Linked DNA regions of Homo sapiens: region 1 is linked to region 2. The links are contacts of gene promoters, found by promoter capture Hi-C in blood cells and fetal thymus (Javierre and others, 2016). All regions are on one chromosome and are shown on one strand. The core of a region is centred on a gene start or on the middle of the fragment in contact, and the rest is flanking DNA. Distances in the headings are between cores, read along the strand shown. Region 1 overlaps AFG2B (AAA ATPase AFG2B). Region 2 holds the start of FEM1B (fem-1 homolog B).

The links. Contacts are between HindIII fragments. The CHiCAGO score rates a contact against its expected background, and 5 or more counts as called.
Region 1: a fragment that was not itself captured here is called in contact with the fragment with the promoter of FEM1B in region 2 in 2 of 17 cell types (total CD4 T cells and naive CD4 T cells); the score reaches 5.9 in total CD4 T cells.

Annotation. Positions count from the first base shown.
Region 1 is chr15:45,403,566-45,407,865 of GRCh38, reverse strand. It overlaps AFG2B (AAA ATPase AFG2B), which reads right to left. Exons shown (of 8, transcript NM_024063.3): 2 at 2,361-2,546. Among named protein-coding and RNA genes, the nearest start is that of AFG2B, 3.4 kb to the right of the region's middle. The HindIII fragment of the contact is 2,345 bases long and covers 1,415-3,759 here.
Region 2 is chr15:68,276,269-68,280,378 of GRCh38, reverse strand. It overlaps FEM1B (fem-1 homolog B), which reads right to left and starts at 2,634. Exons shown (of 2, transcript NM_015322.5): 1 at 1,714-2,634. The coding sequence starts at 1,961. RefSeq lists enhancers at 1,795-1,994, 1,737-2,638 and a silencer at 2,025-2,354. The HindIII fragment of the contact is 2,784 bases long and covers 1,038-3,821 here.

The DNA of each region.
Region 1 (4,300 bases), core at 1,338-3,837, about 23 Mb after region 2:
CACATTTTTTTTTGTTAGTTAAAAAGTCCTGAAAATTTTATTAAAAATATCTGTACTGTATTTATTAAAGTATTTGCCCTCTTATATCCAATTCTAAACATCTAGTTGTCCACAAATTCCCGTTTTCAAAAACAAACTGTCTTTTCTTATTTGTAAACAGATGTTAAGTGAATCTGTATGTATAGAGCTATTCTGTAAAGTATTCTCCCAAAAGTGTTAACAATTGTCATCTCTGGAAAGTGAGATTTCAGGTAGGCAGTTCTTTATAATTTTCTATCTTCATTTCTCATGAATAACCCTATTATATACTTAAAAAAAAGCCTTTTTAACTGGCTGATAGTATGTTAGGTGTCTGATGTCCAAATATTAACTAATCTTTAGGTAACACGAACTAATATTTGAAAATCTCATTTATAGTTCAAGATCATGTGTGTACACATTATTTTACTTGATTCTTTGGGCTTATACATTCTTTCCCCTCTGTGTGTGTCTGAGTGTTAAACTACAGTTCTAATCCTTTAATAGGAATACTTCACAAAAAGTTTAACAAAGTGTAAGGTATCCCTTATCTGCCCTGGTACAGGGAGAGGTAGCAGCAGCCCCTCAGCTGGTGGGGGAAAGAATAAAAGATGGAGCCAGTACCTTCCCAGTTGTCTGTCCCTTCATGCTTTTTGCCTTTCTTCCTTCCACTTCCCCTGGGTTGTTTCTGAACTCAGCCATCACCTGTGGTAACTACACCTGAGCAGGCCCCTCCTGAAGTAGCAGTGGGCTCCACCCTGGGACGACAGCAGCTGACTGGTCCACCTAAGTGAGAGGTGCTTATGGTCAAACCTGGAACTTCAAAGCAGAGGAAATCCTGAATGTAAATCTCCCTTCCCATCTCCTGCTTACTTATTGTCTCCCTCAAAAGACATCTATTCTCACATCTTTACACACAGAACTTTAAAACTTCAAGTAGTTTTGGTCTAAACCTACAAGATGAAGACTTAAAAGATCAACTAGAAGATCACATAACTCCTCCCCACCTTCGGTGTAACTGTAGAAATAAAGGAAAGGAAGTGAGGCAAGGTATAAATTATTTAGGTAAAAAGGTTTTTCAAAATTTAGGATAATAAATCATTCTTTTGCAGTTTAAGATGAAAAGACAATTTTGATGTTACAAATGAGATTGAAAACTCTGTTTCAGAATCCTTAGCCTGCTGAAATCAGTTTTTTCCTGAATGGGTTTAAGGATTCAGGACTATTTATTATATACAAAATACTGGATTTTACAACCAACAAAGTTGAAAAGTATTATATTTAATCTAATATCTTAAATATTGTTAGGAAATAGTCATGAATTACAGACCTGCAGATCAAGGACAAATTTAAATACAATTCCAAGTGCCCAATCTTCTCCTAGGTTAGAAAAGCTTATTTCTCCCACTAGATACTTATTAATAACAAAGGGAAAAACGGTATCTTGACAATGGAGAAATCTCACAGACACCACCTTAACCAAGAAATCAAAGTTAACTTCACCAGTGATAGAACAGAAACATATCATGTGCTGCCTAACAGATGCAATGAGAAAGACACAGGATCATTTCTATTATATTCCTGCCCAAAATGCAAAACCTGAATTGAATCATGAAGAAACATTAGTCAAACCCAAACTGACGAATATTCCACAGAATAACTGACTCTTAAAAAGTTATGTTTTCATAGAAGAAAGCCTGAAGTATGATTCTAGATTAAGGCCTATTTAGGTTAAGTACAAGTATTATGTCTGCGTTAATTTTCTCAGCTTGATCATCATACTGTGGTTAAGGTCCTTGTTTTTCAGAAATATACACTTACGTTTTCGCGGGTAAAGGGGCATCATGGATGTAGTATATGCTCAAATATTTCATTATATATATGTATATATATAAGGAAATACACATGAAGAGAGAATGATAAAGCAAATGTGGCAAATGTTACATTTGGAGAATCTAGGAGAAGGGTATATGGAAACTCTTTGTACTATTTTTGTAACTTCTAAGTCTGAAATTGCCTCAAAATAAAAAAATTCAAATTAAAAAAACTCTTTGATTCTTCTGGGGCCACACTATTTCTTGGCTGCTCTGGGCTTCAGCACTAGGGAGTTACTATAAGAGTAGGGAACAAATTCACTCAGTAGACCCAGAGGACTCAGCCCTTTATCCCCACCCTCAATCATATACTATTTATATAGAGTTGAGATGTAAAATGTATAAGCAACAGCTGTGGAAGCTATCAAATGTTCTAAGGAAAATGTACTCACCGCTTTTTTTTAACCCCCAAATTAATCTGTTACAATAATAGATTAACATAGATGTTCATAAATTAACACTTCTTACCTTCTCACTATGAAGGAGGGCATGCATGGCAGCCTCCCTACAGAGTGCTGTCAGGTCGGCACCAACATAGCCAACTGTCATTTCTGCAAGAAGGCCCAAATCAACATGACTGGAGATGGGCATCTTCGAGGTAATCACTTGCAGAATTTCCTTTCTTTGTTTAAGTGTGGGAGTCCCAATGACCACCTATATGCAAAGCAAAACAAAAAAAAGAAGAAGAAGTATATAGTTTAAAATATATTATTTTTAAAGTTGATCTCATGGATGGAGGTAGACAGCAGAATGATAGCAACCAGACACTGGGAAGGGTTGGGGGTGAGGGGATGAAGACAGGTTGGCTCATGGGTACAAACATACAGTTAGGTAGAAGGAATATGTGTAATGTTTGATAGTGTAGTAGGGTGACTATAGTTAACAATAATTTCTCGTATATTTCAAAATAGCTACTAGAGAGAATCTGAAATATTCCCAACACTCAGATAAGAAATGATAAATGTTTGAGGTGATGGATATCCTAAGCACCCTGATTTGATAATTACAAATTGTATGCATGTACCAAAATATCACATGTACCCCAAAACATGCACAATTATGTATCAATAAAAATAGATCAATTAAAAAAGAATTACTTCCAAAAAAATTTTATATATGTGTGTGTATACATATATATATTTTTTTTTTCTTTTTTTTTTTTTTTTGAGACACAGTTTCACTCTGCTGCCCAGTCTGGAGTGCAGCGGGCACCATCTCAGCTCACTGCAACCTCCACCTCCTGGTTCAAGTGATTCTGGTGCCTCAGCCTCCAGAGTAGCTAGAACTACAGGCATGTGCCACCATGCCCGGCTTATTTTTTGTATTTTTAGCAGAGACGGGGTTTCACCATCTTGGCCAGGCTGGTCTCGAACTCCTGACCTCAGGTGATCCACCCACCTCAGCCTCCCAAAGTATTGAGATTGCAGGCGTGAGCCACCGCGCCCGGCCAAAATAATAATATGTTTTTTATCCTGACAAACATGTACGACAATTTAGTGAACCACTTTGGAACTAGTACCGTGCACTTTACGTATACTTTAGATTCTGAATATACGAAAATCCTAATATTCCAGAGGAGTAACACTGGCTAGAAAGTTGCACAATGAAAATTCTATGTCATTTAACAAGTTTTTGTTATTTTTAAGAACACACAAAGTTCTAGAAGCCAGGTATAGATAGCTAGGTCCCTGCCCTTAAGGACACAGGTACTAGATAGTGCAAGGAAGAAATCCACTCAAGTCCTGAACTAACTGAGCTAAAAGTGTGTAATTATCATTTCTCTTTTGAATCCTATCACAAAATAGAAATATCAGTCACTAAATTTCAAACTGTTCTTTAGAATTCAAGTCAATTTAGGACCAAAGCTTAAAATAGGACAGCTCTGAATATTCAACCTCCCTGACAACTCAGGGAGCAGTTGTGGGTACCTCCTCAATTGTGGAATAGGATGCTGGTGTTATGACAAGGAATGAATAAATCCAGAAGAGTTAATGCCTGCTTCCATTTAGTTCTTCCCCACCTTCTCCCTTTTTATTTCAACACACTTACTTCTTGAGGCTATCCTTCTTTAAATTCTCATTCCAAAAAATGAGTTTAACACGCTTGTAGGTGACCAAAATTCTCTTAAGAATTAACATTACTGATTATAGGACCTGCACAACAAAATTAATCTGTAATGGACACCTCGCTTCCCAAAACAATTAGACTCTGGGGAAACAGGTCCTGACTCTCAGATCCTGACTCACAGGTCCTGACAATTTGACTCTGGGGAAATACAGGTCCTGACTCACAGATCATATATCGGCAGAGAACGTGTTCTCTGCATTGCAAAGAGCCCCAACTCCAACCTCACCGATGCTCAAACCTAAGAGGCAAACGCCTCCGGGGCAGCCAAATGGCGCCAGAAG
Region 2 (4,110 bases), core at 1,385-3,884:
AGTATGTTATTCATCTCTGCATATCCAATCCCTACCACAGAACCTAGCACGCAGTAGGTGTTCAATAAATGTTTACTTACCGAACTCATTAATTTCTCTGGCCAGTACAGAACATTGGGCAAGATAAGCCACTACACAGGCTCAATGCTACATTTCTAGTCATTTCAGGTTCTTTTAATTGCCACCTCAAAACATCTCTTTGACGACTGAAAAAGATGGCAATAAGCAAAACCTTTCGAAATTCTTAACTCTTTTTTCTCCCCACTATTCTCCCTTATGCACATTGCCTCAGCAGCAGTATTCCCAAGCAGCTGTTATTACAGAAATTCATATCTCAATGACTTCATATGCCTATACAGGTGGAACGGTACTGGAGGTTCAGAGGTCACTGTGCTTCACTCCTTCTCTAGGTGCGGGAATGCAAGGAGTTACAGAGAAGACACGAAAGCCAGTAAGGAAAAGCAAACATGAATCAGGTTGCCATCTTTGGTCAACATGAAAAAAAACATCTCCTTAATGTGTATAATGGTGATACCCGTGATATAAGCCATTGCCCATGGGCTACCATTTCATTAAGATGTAATGCTATGAATATTTTCCACTCATCTAAAATAGAAGAAAAAGCTTTTATTGTTTAAACCTAAAAAAGAATCAACCGAAACAGAACATTTCCCTAGTCATCTTAAAGAAGAAATGTTTTTTTCAGTCGAGTTTTAGCCAGGCAGTTTCTAATCACCAAAAACTAAAGATATATATTTTTATGCTCAGACCCTACTGACTTCAAAAGAAAAAAAAAATGCTAAAATAGCTTATGTACTACCACAAGTCAACCAAAACATATGTAGCAAAATCGTTATACAGTTGTAATCTGTAAAACGTGTTATAATCCTCCAGCATAGAAAAGAGGATAATGTCAAACCTGACAATTCTGGTCAAATACCCAAAAATTCGTACAATTAAACTCAAAGGGCAAATCTTAGGCATAACAATGTGCATTTTTAAACTTCCCACCTCAACTAACAGTAAATGATCAAGCTTCCCCACAACATCACGGGATAAGATGTAATTTAAGAATGGCATCATCTCCCACATCAGGTCCAATGCCATCTTAGTAGCCAATATATCTACACCGAGCAACGTGGAGGAATCAGAATCATGTCTTGAGATGTCTGGCTGCGTGACAATCCCTCATGATGCTGCAGCTGCTGCTGGTTCTAGGTGCTTATTTTGACATTAAAGCCCAGCAGCCCACTGAAGGTTTTACGGAACCACTCACTTGAAGGGAGTAAAAATGGATGCCCAAATAACTCTTTCGGAGTTCTTCAATGTTAACCGCTGACCTCCTTAATTTCTGATCAGTTACATCACCAGTTCCACTAAAAGTAAAACCTGGAAAGGCAGCCACCTCCTCCAAATGGCTTGTTCACAGACTATCTAGTAGAGAAGACGACTATTAGATTTCAAGGCCGAGGGTGTGGTTATCTTCCCACAGAGGGAATGAGGGGTAGGGGCTGATGAGGACGGGCAGCAAAACATGGGATGGATTATTAGCCCTGGAAGATGAAGTGGGCATTAGTGGGGCAGGAGGTGGTACAAAAAGGGGAGAAGTGAGTACCTACATGAAGAGAGGGTAAGAGAGGGTGAGGGAGGGGAGGGCCCGTGAATTAACGAGTCCGCGCGCGTCGGAGAGAGGCTGGCTTGGGATGTACCTACCCGTCGAAGCGGACGGTGCCAGTCTGCTGAGTCTGCACCCGGTAATGTTCTAAGAGCAAGCGTACCACCTTTGCGTGTCCATTGCGGGCTGCGATGATGAGGGGCGTGGAGCGCTGCCCTCCCTGCTGGCTGACATAGCCAAGCAGATAGCGGATGTCGCTTTCAGACCGGTTGAGAAGCAAGGCGGCCAGAGTCAGCACCTTGCCCTCGCTGGCCGCCTTGTATACATAGCCAGCCAGGCCCTCCATGGCCGCCGCCAACTCCAACACCCGTTTGGTCGCCACCGCTGCAGCTGCCGTGCGCCCCCGGAGGCCGCGTTCGCCAGCGCTTTAAACCTGGGCCCTCACAGCCCATTCAACAGGGCGCCGTCGCCGCCGCCGCGCCCAGGCAGCAGTGCGGCCCAGGGAAGGCGGAGACGCAGAGGAGGCCGAGTGCCGCGAAGGGCACGTCCGCGACCCAGCCCGCGCAGGGAGGAAGGCGGTCAGGGCCGCCCGCCAGGTCCCAGGCGCCGGCCCTGGACCGAGGGGATCTCCATGGCGGACGCCGCCCCGGGCCTCAGGCCGGACCCCTCCTTCCTGCGGGATGCGACAGGCGCGTGCCCGAGCTACGGGTCGCCGGCCGGGTCCCGAGAGGACCTCGCGCACCCCGGATGGCGAAAGATGGGCGCGTCTCTCCTGACCCGGCCCACCCGGCCTAAGGCCTAACACTGCCTCCTCCTGCGCTTTCCGCCCTTCGCCGTCCCTGACTGGAGGAAACCTGCAGGCTCTCGTCCGCCGAGCTCAGAAGTGCCAGGCGCTGCCAACGGCCCCGGAGATCCTCGCGTAGGGGCCCCCGGGGCGATGCGGAACGCTCCCGCAAGAGCGGCGCCGGAACTTGGGCGGGGAGGAAGACGAGCTTTCGCAGACAGGGCCGGGAGGAGAGGGCGGGAGCGGGAGGGACGCTAAGTGGGGTGTCTCCGCCTAAGCCGACCGGCGGGCACACGCGGGCCCGGTAGAGAAAGGTTCTGCTGCGCGTAGTTGGCCCATCCCGTTTGGGCCTGGATGTCCTCAATGTCCTTGACTCCTGGAACCTCCTCCTGGCCCCTAAACGGCCCTGAGGGTCTCCAGCCAGGGAGTGGGGGCGGAGTGAGGGCGCTAAGCTGATGGGCTAAGGAGACCACCCTATTTTACTATAGACGGTGCGGGTCCTGCTTCTGCCCCTGAGCCGGGGTTAGGGAAGGGGTTGCGCGTACTCGGAGGGTCCATTTCAGGAAAAGGGCGGCGTTTCTGAGTTCCCGAAATGTGGGAGGGCTTGAGAGCCACAACACCAGGCTCTGAGAAGGGACTGGAAGTACGGCCTGACTTTCCCGGAGAAAGGGGTTAAGTGTGAGAGAAAGATGGGAGCGAAGGGGAGCTGCGCTCGCGGTGGAAGGAGCGAGGTATCCTGGGAAGGAAAGCGAGTCCCGCGTTCAGACAGAGCAGGAATCTCATCCTGAGCCGGCAGAACCTCCGTTTTCTCACAGACATCACAAGATTGTTGTTAGGATTTGAAACGATCGTTTATCCAATGAATATTAGAGGTCGACTACGTGCCAGGCTCTGCTTAGCACTAGGGATTCAGTAATGGAACAAATAAGTCAACAAATGATAGACAAGATCAGTTGAACTGGTATCATTACCATTTGCTCTGAAGCAAATGAAATAGAATGATGGGGGCACTCATTTAGTTTGGGTGATCAGACAAGACCTCTATGACAAGTGACAAGAACAGACGGTATTCTAGGCAAAGGGGACAGCTAATATAAAAGTCCTGAGGAGGGAACAGTCTGGTGAGCTCGGAAACAGAAAGGTCAGTGTGGCTGCAGCAGAGTGGGCCACAGTAAGAATGATAGATGAAGTCAGAGGATGCAACACACGTTAGGGCCTAATAACCCATAGCAAAGGGTTTAAGTCTACTCTGTGATGGGGGCATTTGAAGGGTTTTAAAGAGGGAAGTGACAAGATGCTATTTGTGTTTTTTAAAAAGATCACTCTGGCTGCTGTATGGAGAATAAACTCTGGAAGGCAAGAGTAGATAGGGGGACAGGCCTTGGATTAGGATGGTAGGAGTGAATGGTAGGTGATGAAGCTTCTGGGACAGTCTCAAAAAACTCAATATGAAAGTGACTTCCTCCCTCTTCCTCCCTTCCCCAAAGGACAAAATTTACCATAGAGAAAGAACAAATGCATTTATGTGGCTCCAAGGGACTGGGCTCGGCTCAACAAGTTCACATACATTATTTTATTTGAACCCCACCATTCCAATTCTAGGAGGTAAAGGCCTCACTTCCATTGCAGCTATTGGTGGAGGTGTGGGTCACTTCTCAAATTCTCTCCATTCTACAGCTCAGCTTTACCCACTTATTGCAGATCCCTACAG